2 separate regions of the Homo sapiens genome follow, and region 2 is linked to region 1. Evidence: promoter capture Hi-C in human tissues and cell types (Jung and others, 2019). All regions are on one chromosome and are shown on one strand. The core of a region is centred on a gene start or on the middle of the fragment in contact, and the rest is flanking DNA. Distances in the headings are between cores, read along the strand shown.

Evidence for each region. The method cuts DNA at HindIII sites, captures the fragments that hold promoters and counts their contacts. A contact is called where the count stands out against the background at its distance.
Region 2: a contact is called between a fragment that was not itself captured here and the fragment with the promoter of BRCA1 in region 1, in 1 of the 25 tissues and cell types used here (aorta).

Annotation. Positions count from the first base shown.
Region 1 is chr17:43,124,114-43,128,017 of GRCh38, reverse strand. BRCA1 (BRCA1 DNA repair associated) reads left to right here and starts at 2,654. Exons shown (of 23, transcript NM_007294.4): 1 at 2,654-2,747; 2 at 3,903-3,904. NBR2 (neighbor of BRCA1 lncRNA 2) reads right to left here and starts at 2,461. Exons shown (of 8, transcript NR_138145.1): 1 at 2,248-2,461. RefSeq lists enhancers at 462-1,275, 2,204-2,293, 2,423-2,447, 2,344-2,473, 2,580-2,602, silencers at 1,282-1,299, 3,323-3,358, cis regulatory regions at 1,324-1,353, 1,704-1,733, 2,410-2,418, 2,580-2,602 and promoters at 2,403-2,669, 913-2,669. The HindIII fragment of the contact is 12,987 bases long and covers 1-3,904 here.
Region 2 is chr17:43,084,199-43,088,102 of GRCh38, reverse strand. All of the region lies in intron 11 of BRCA1 (BRCA1 DNA repair associated), which reads left to right. Among named protein-coding and RNA genes, the nearest start is that of BRCA1, 39 kb to the left of the region's middle. The HindIII fragment of the contact is 3,426 bases long and covers 234-3,659 here.

The sequences.
Region 1 (3,904 bases), core at 1,405-3,904:
GAGTCTCCCTCTGTCACCCAGGCTGGAATGCAGTGGTGCAATCTGGGCTCACTGCAAGCTCCGCCTCCCGGGTTCACGCCATTCTCCTGCCTCAACCTCCCCAGTAGAGGGGATTACAGGCACCCACCACCGCACCCAGCTAATATTTTGTCTTTTTAGTAGAGTCGGGGTTTCACTGTGTTAGCCAGGATGGTCTCGATCTCTTGACCTCGTGATCCACCCCTCTAGGCCTCCCAAATTGCTGGGATTACAGGTGTGAGCCACTGGCACCCAGCGGGGCAGCCTGCTTTTATTCCCTTATCTGACCCCACCCACATCCTGTTGATTGGTCCATTTTACAGAGAGCTAATTGGTCCGTTTTGACAGGGTGCTGATTGGTGCATTTACAATCCCTGAGCTAGATATACACAGAGTGCTGATTGGTGCATTTACAATCCTCTAGCTAGACATAAAAATTCTCCAAGTCCCCACTACATTTGCTAGACACAGAGCACTGATTGGTGCGTTTACAAACCTTTAGCTAGACACAGAGTGCTGATTGGTGCATTTGCAAACCTTGAGCTAGACACAGAGCACTGATTGGTGCATTTACAATCCTTTAGCTAGACACAGAAGTTCTCCAAGTGCCCACCAGATTAGCTAGATACAGAGTGCTGATTGGTGCATCCCCAAACCCCAAGCTAGACACAGAGTGCTGACTGGTGCATATAAAATCCTCAGGCTAGACATAAAAGTTTTCCAAGTCCCCATCTGACTCAGGAGCCCAGCTGGCTTCACCTAGTGGATCCTGCGCAGGGCTGTGCCGGGCGCCTGCACTCCTCTCAGCCCTTGGGCAGTCGATGGGACCGGGCGCTGAGGAGCAGGGGGCGGTGCCCGTCGGGGAGGCTCAGGCCACGCTGGAGCTCACAGGGGTTGGGAGGGGGCTCGGGCATGGCGGGCTGCAGGTCCTGAGCCTTGCCCTGTGCAGGGCGGCTGGGGCCCGGTGAGAATTCAAGCGGGGTGCAGGCGGGCCGGCAGTGCTGGGGGACCCGGCGCACCCTCTGCAGCTGCTGGCCCGGGTGCTAGGCCCCTGACTGCCCGGGGCCGGGGGTGCGGGGCCCGCTGAGCCCGCGCCCACCTGGAACTCGCGCTGGCTGGCGAGCGCTGCGCGCAGCCCCAGTTCCCACACCCGCCTCTCCCTCCACACTTCCCCGCAAGCAGAGGGAGCCGGCTCTGGCTTCGGCCAGCCCAGAGAGGGGCCCCCACAGCGCAGTGGCGGGCTGAAGGGCTCCTCCAGCACGGCCAGAATGGACGCCAAGGCCGAGGAGGCGCCGAGAGCGAGCGAGGGCTGCTAGCACGTTGTCACCTCGCATTCTGAACCACAGACTCTCCAACTCTCCGGCGCTTTTCGCCCACTCGGTCCCTCAGAACACGAAGGGCTCTCTCATCCTGTCACTAAAACGATTAGCTGTCCGGAGACACGGAAAAAGTCGCCCCTCTTCTTTGCAGGATTCCTCCCTTGAACTTCTCCAAACCCTCTTAGTGTGACGTGACCCCACCCCTAGCTAACCCAGGCTGCTTCCTTACCAGCTTCCCGCCCCCTGGGGAGGCGGCAATGCAAAGACCGTCCGCTGCCAGCTCTGCCGCTATCTCTGTGGGGTGAATCTAACATGGCGGACAAAGACAGTAACTAGTCCCGTTTCTCCGCGTTTTCGCCAAGAAGATTGGCTCTTACCACTTGTCCCTCAAAACGACCACCCCATTGACTGGTGGCGATTGCGTCGACGGAGACGGGGCAAAAGCAAGCTGAACCCGAAAAATAACAAACACTGGGGCTGAGGGGTGGAACTACGAGTGCGCAGACATGGGCCAGAGCGCATTTCCCCTGCCCCAGGCAAATTCGGCGCTCACTGCGTCCCCGCAGGCCACTGACCTTACAAGACTACTTGCCCCAGACTCCTGGGGCTGGATGGGAATTGTAGTCTCCCTAAAGAGTTGTACGTATCTTTTTAAGGCCTAGTTTCTGCTTTCAAAATACGAAAACATAACACTCCAGTCCATAACTGTTGACAAGTACAAGCGCGCACAGGTCTCCAATCTATCCACTGGATTTCCGTGAGAATTGTGCCCGCTCTGGTATTGGATGTTCCTCTCCATAAGACTACAGTTTCTAAGGAACACTGTGGCGAAGACCTTTCATTCCGCAACGCATGCTGGAAATAATTATTTCCCTCCACCCCCCCAACAATCCTTATTACTTATATTTACCGAAACTGGAGACCTCCATTAGGGCGGAAAGAGTGGGGGATTGGGACCTCTTCTTACGACTGCTTTGGACAATAGGTAGCGATTCTGACCTTCGTACAGCAATTACTGTGATGCAATAAGCCGCAACTGGAAGAGTAGAGGCTAGAGGGCAGGCACTTTATGGCAAACTCAGGTAGAATTCTTCCTCTTCCGTCTCTTTCCTTTTACGTCATCCGGGGGCAGACTGGGTGGCCAATCCAGAGCCCCGAGAGACGCTTGGCTCTTTCTGTCCCTCCCATCCTCTGATTGTACCTTGATTTCGTATTCTGAGAGGCTGCTGCTTAGCGGTAGCCCCTTGGTTTCCGTGGCAACGGAAAAGCGCGGGAATTACAGATAAATTAAAACTGCGACTGCGCGGCGTGAGCTCGCTGAGACTTCCTGGACGGGGGACAGGCTGTGGGGTTTCTCAGATAACTGGGCCCCTGCGCTCAGGAGGCCTTCACCCTCTGCTCTGGGTAAAGGTAGTAGAGTCCCGGGAAAGGGACAGGGGGCCCAAGTGATGCTCTGGGGTACTGGCGTGGGAGAGTGGATTTCCGAAGCTGACAGATGGGTATTCTTTGACGGGGGGTAGGGGCGGAACCTGAGAGGCGTAAGGCGTTGTGAACCCTGGGGAGGGGGGCAGTTTGTAGGTCGCGAGGGAAGCGCTGAGGATCAGGAAGGGGGCACTGAGTGTCCGTGGGGGAATCCTCGTGATAGGAACTGGAATATGCCTTGAGGGGGACACTATGTCTTTAAAAACGTCGGCTGGTCATGAGGTCAGGAGTTCCAGACCAGCCTGACCAACGTGGTGAAACTCCGTCTCTACTAAAAATACAAAAATTAGCCGGGCGTGGTGCCGCTCCAGCTACTCAGGAGGCTGAGGCAGGAGAATCGCTAGAACCCGGGAGGCGGAGGTTGCAGTGAGCCGAGATCGCGCCATTGCACTCCAGCCTGGGCGACAGAGCGAGACTGTCTCAAAACAAAACAAAACAAAACAAAACAAAAAACACCGGCTGGTATGTATGAGAGGATGGGACCTTGTGGAAGAAGAGGTGCCAGGAATATGTCTGGGAAGGGGAGGAGACAGGATTTTGTGGGAGGGAGAACTTAAGAACTGGATCCATTTGCGCCATTGAGAAAGCGCAAGAGGGAAGTAGAGGAGCGTCAGTAGTAACAGATGCTGCCGGCAGGGATGTGCTTGAGGAGGATCCAGAGATGAGAGCAGGTCACTGGGAAAGGTTAGGGGCGGGGAGGCCTTGATTGGTGTTGGTTTGGTCGTTGTTGATTTTGGTTTTATGCAAGAAAAAGAAAACAACCAGAAACATTGGAGAAAGCTAAGGCTACCACCACCTACCCGGTCAGTCACTCCTCTGTAGCTTTCTCTTTCTTGGAGAAAGGAAAAGACCCAAGGGGTTGGCAGCAATATGTGAAAAAATTCAGAATTTATGTTGTCTAATTACAAAAAGCAACTTCTAGAATCTTTAAAAATAAAGGACGTTGTCATTAGTTCTTTGGTTTGTATTATTCTAAAACCTTCCAAATCTTAAATTTACTTTATTTTAAAATGATAAAATGAAGTTGTCATTTTATAAACCTTTTAAAAAGATATATATATATGTTTTTCTAATGTGTTAAAGTT
Region 2 (3,904 bases), core at 697-3,196, 39 kb after region 1:
TGTGTGCACAGGGGTGCTTGTATATACTTTATCTTTAAAATATATCCAGGAAGCTAGGCACAGTGGCTTACACCTGTAATCCCAGCACTTTGGGAGGGTGAGGCAGGAAGATTGCCTGAGCCCCGGAGGTCAAGGCTGCAGTGAGTTGTGATCACGCTACTGCACTCTGTTCTGGGCAACCCCTGTCTGGGAAAAAAAAAAAAATTAGTGAGGCTTAGTGGTGCACACCTGTAGTCTCAGCTACTTGAGTGGCTGGGGTAGGATTGCTTGATCCCAGCAAGTTGAGGCCGTGGTGAGCCATGATGGTGCCACTGCACTCCATCCTGGGTGATATGGTGAGACCCTGTCTCAAAAACAAGAAATCCAGATAATTCTGTGCATTATAATCTAGCTTTTACTGGATCATTAAAATTCTTTTTTCTTTTTTTTTTTTTTTTTCTGAGATGGAGTTTCACTCTTGTTGCCCAGGCTGGAGTGCAGTGGTGTGACCTTGGCTCACCGCATCCTCTGCCTCCCGGGTTCATGCGATTCTCCTGCCTCAGCCTCCCGAGTAGCTGGGATTACAGGCATGTGCCACCATGCCCAGCTAACTTTGTATTTTTAGTAGAGACAGGGTTTCTCCATGTTGACCAGGCTGGTCTCAAACTCCTGGCCTCAAGTGATCCACCCACCTCGGCCTCCCAAAGTGCTGGGGTTACAGGCGTGAGCCACCGCACTCAGCCTGGGTCGTTAAAATTCTTAAGTGACTTCATTTTTAATTACTATATGGGATTCTATCTTTCCAGTGTATCATGATTTATTTGACCTATTGCTGAATGTTGGAGGTTTCAGGGTAAGAGGCACAGTTTGCTATTATGTACATCACTATAGTGGCATCCTGATAGCTAAATATTTGCCTACATCCCTGATTATTTCCTTAGTCTAAATTACTGGGACTAGGATTTTGGTGTTTGATACATGTTACTAAATTGTTTTTTAGAAAGATTAAACCAGTTTATGCTCTTCCAGCCCCTGTGGTATATGATAGTTCCCATTTTCCTGTACCTTGCCAACACTGGGTGATATCCAGTTTTAAAATCTAAATCTTGCATTGCTATGAGAACTACAATTAGAGAAGGCTTATCTTCTACTGCCCATTCTCTGTACAGAGCAAATCCCTCTAGACCTGAAGCCCCTTGGAGTTGTCAAGAAACCTTTGAGATGACTCCCCACTCTGTATCTGAGCTGTCACCAGTATTCTCCACTTCTTCAGGATTGCCATGGCAACTAAATTGATGAAAAGATTTAGGAGGCCTTTTCTCTCTTTGCAATTCCTATGATCCTTTTTGAATGTGGGTTTGGGACTCTGTCAATATACCCATCATCTAATTCTGTCCATTGTGTTTTAAAGTTTAAGGTTGCAATTTCTGATTACATCTGCCTTAGCCATACTGTATTATATTTGACATTCAATATACAATGTCCTTGTTTTTCTGTATTTCTAATCTTATTCCCAGAGATGTGTCTATTTGTTCAGGATTCATTTTGCAACGTGTTTTTACTAAGCATCTACCCAAAACCGTTGAAGTCAGATTTCAGGCTGTCTTACGTCTAAAGTAGCACAGGCAGGAAAAACTATTGAAGTGGGATTTTTTTTTCCCTTTTTGTACTGAACCGAGAAAAAGTATATAGATGATAGAGAATTCCTAATTTGGTATCATTGATATCTGGGTTTTTGTTTGTTTTTACAGAAGACTGATTAACTATACTTATTTATTAATTTATCTTCTCATTAATAAACACTTGCTGAGTGCTTACTGTCTGCTAGGCATTAGGGAGACAAATATGATTAAGGGAAGCTTCCTCCTATCAAGGTCATGTGTTCCATTTGGGTATACTAATGCATTAGCAATGTAAATCAAGTAGTGAGAGATCATCTGTTCCCGATAGGAGATGGATTATTGGTGGGGACTTCTGTGTGTGTGTGTGTGTGTGTGTGTGTGTGTGTGTGTGTATGTATGTGATAAAATAAATATAGGAAATGTTAATTATAGATTCTAAGTAGTAGATATATAAACACTCATTGCAAAGTTGCTTCAAGTTTTCTGTATATTTGAAAATATTCACAACATGTCGACAAAACTAGCATGATAAAGCCACTATTTGTGCTAAGACTTCAGCTTGTATCTGGATTAGGCTTATTATGTAGTAGTAGGAACATTAGAAATAGTTTTAACTCATTAAATACACATGTTTTATGGGAAGGTTTTATATATATATTTATATGTAATGAATGTGAACAAACAAGGGTCAGATATACACTCTGCTTCCCTCCAGACCAGTTCCGGCTGCTCTGCTGCACATTTCAGGAGTCTTATTAGAATTAGCCACATTCTGCCCACTTGCCCTTACTTCTCATATTTCACAACTCCTCCTGGTGGGGACTTAAGGAGACATTCAAACTAGGCCTTGAAAGATGAGAATTTTTCCAAGTGGAAAAAGAGGAGTGGCAGCAAGTAAGGTAAAGGTACAGAGTCATGGAATTCCCAGGAAACGTAAAGTTGTCATGTGTTATAGGAAAACAACTTGTGTGAGGGGTGTTGGGAGAAATGAGAGATAATACCAGGGTATAAAGGGCCTTTTGAATGCTATGTTGAGGAATTTTATCCTAATGGCAGTAATGACTAACAATTATATAGTGTTCAAAAAGTATAAATCAGCAGTGGTATACCACTAAGGGTTTTTTTCTTTTCTTTTTTTTTTTGAGACAGAGTTTTGCTCTGTTGCCCAGGCTGGAGTGCCGTGGCACGATCTCAGCTCACTGCACTTCCGCCACCTGGGTTCAAGTGATTCTTCTGCCTCAGCCAGTGTTTCACTGTGATGGCCAGGATGGAGCACTAAGGGTCTTTATGGAAGAAAAAGACATGATAAACAAGGCTTTTAGGGAACTTCTACAGTAATGTAGCTGTATTAAAAGTAGAGATCAGAGCAGCATAGTAGAAGTAGAAGGCTAGAGCTAATTGAAGGAGCACTTCAGAATTAGAATCAAGAAGTCTTAGAAACCTATTGGTTTTATTCTCCCTAATGTATTTGGCCACTTACCTGCTGGGGAATTTGTCTAAGTTATAAAAAATAATTCCTTTGGGAAACCCAAAGGAAAGTTATCTATTAATAATTACCCCACTACTTTTTCTGATTTATGTAATGGCCACGTAGAGGTTAGATGTGATGGTTGTGACAGTAGTGACTAATACAGCCTGTGAAGCATTTTGGTCAGATATCTATGTGCTTTCATTCCAGGTTGACTGAGGCAAGACTTTGGCTAGGGTTTGATCAGTGATGTAACTACTCACGAGTACCACGTGGTGGCAATGGCATTGCTGCAGACCTTGGCAGCAAAGCAGTGTTAGAGTAGCAGTAGAAACCTTTGTGAAGCTAGGAATACATTTTCTGGTCATAAAAACCTCCTGAAAATTGTGAACTCAGTGTAGCAGGAGAAAGAAGATGGCTTGTTTTTAGTAAAGGGCAAAGTCATTTTTAAGGATCAGAAGAAGAAACGGAGAGTGAAACAATGTGTTCCTGCCCTACTCCCCCACTGGACTTTTTGGCAACCATTGCTGTTCCTTCTAAAAGTGATTTTTAAACATGTATATTTTGAAGCCAGGCACAGTGACTCACGTCTGTAATCCCAGCACTTTGGGAGGCCGAGGCGGGCAGATCACCTGAGGTCAGGAGTTCAAGACCAGCCTGGCCAACATGGTGAAACCCCGTCTCTACTAAAAATACAAAAATTAGGCCAGGTGTGGTGGCTCACGCCTGTAATCCCAGCACTTTGGGAGGCCGAGGCGGGAGGATCATGTGGTCAGGAGATCCAGACCATCCTGGCTAACACGGTGAAACACCATTTCTACTAAAAATACAAAAA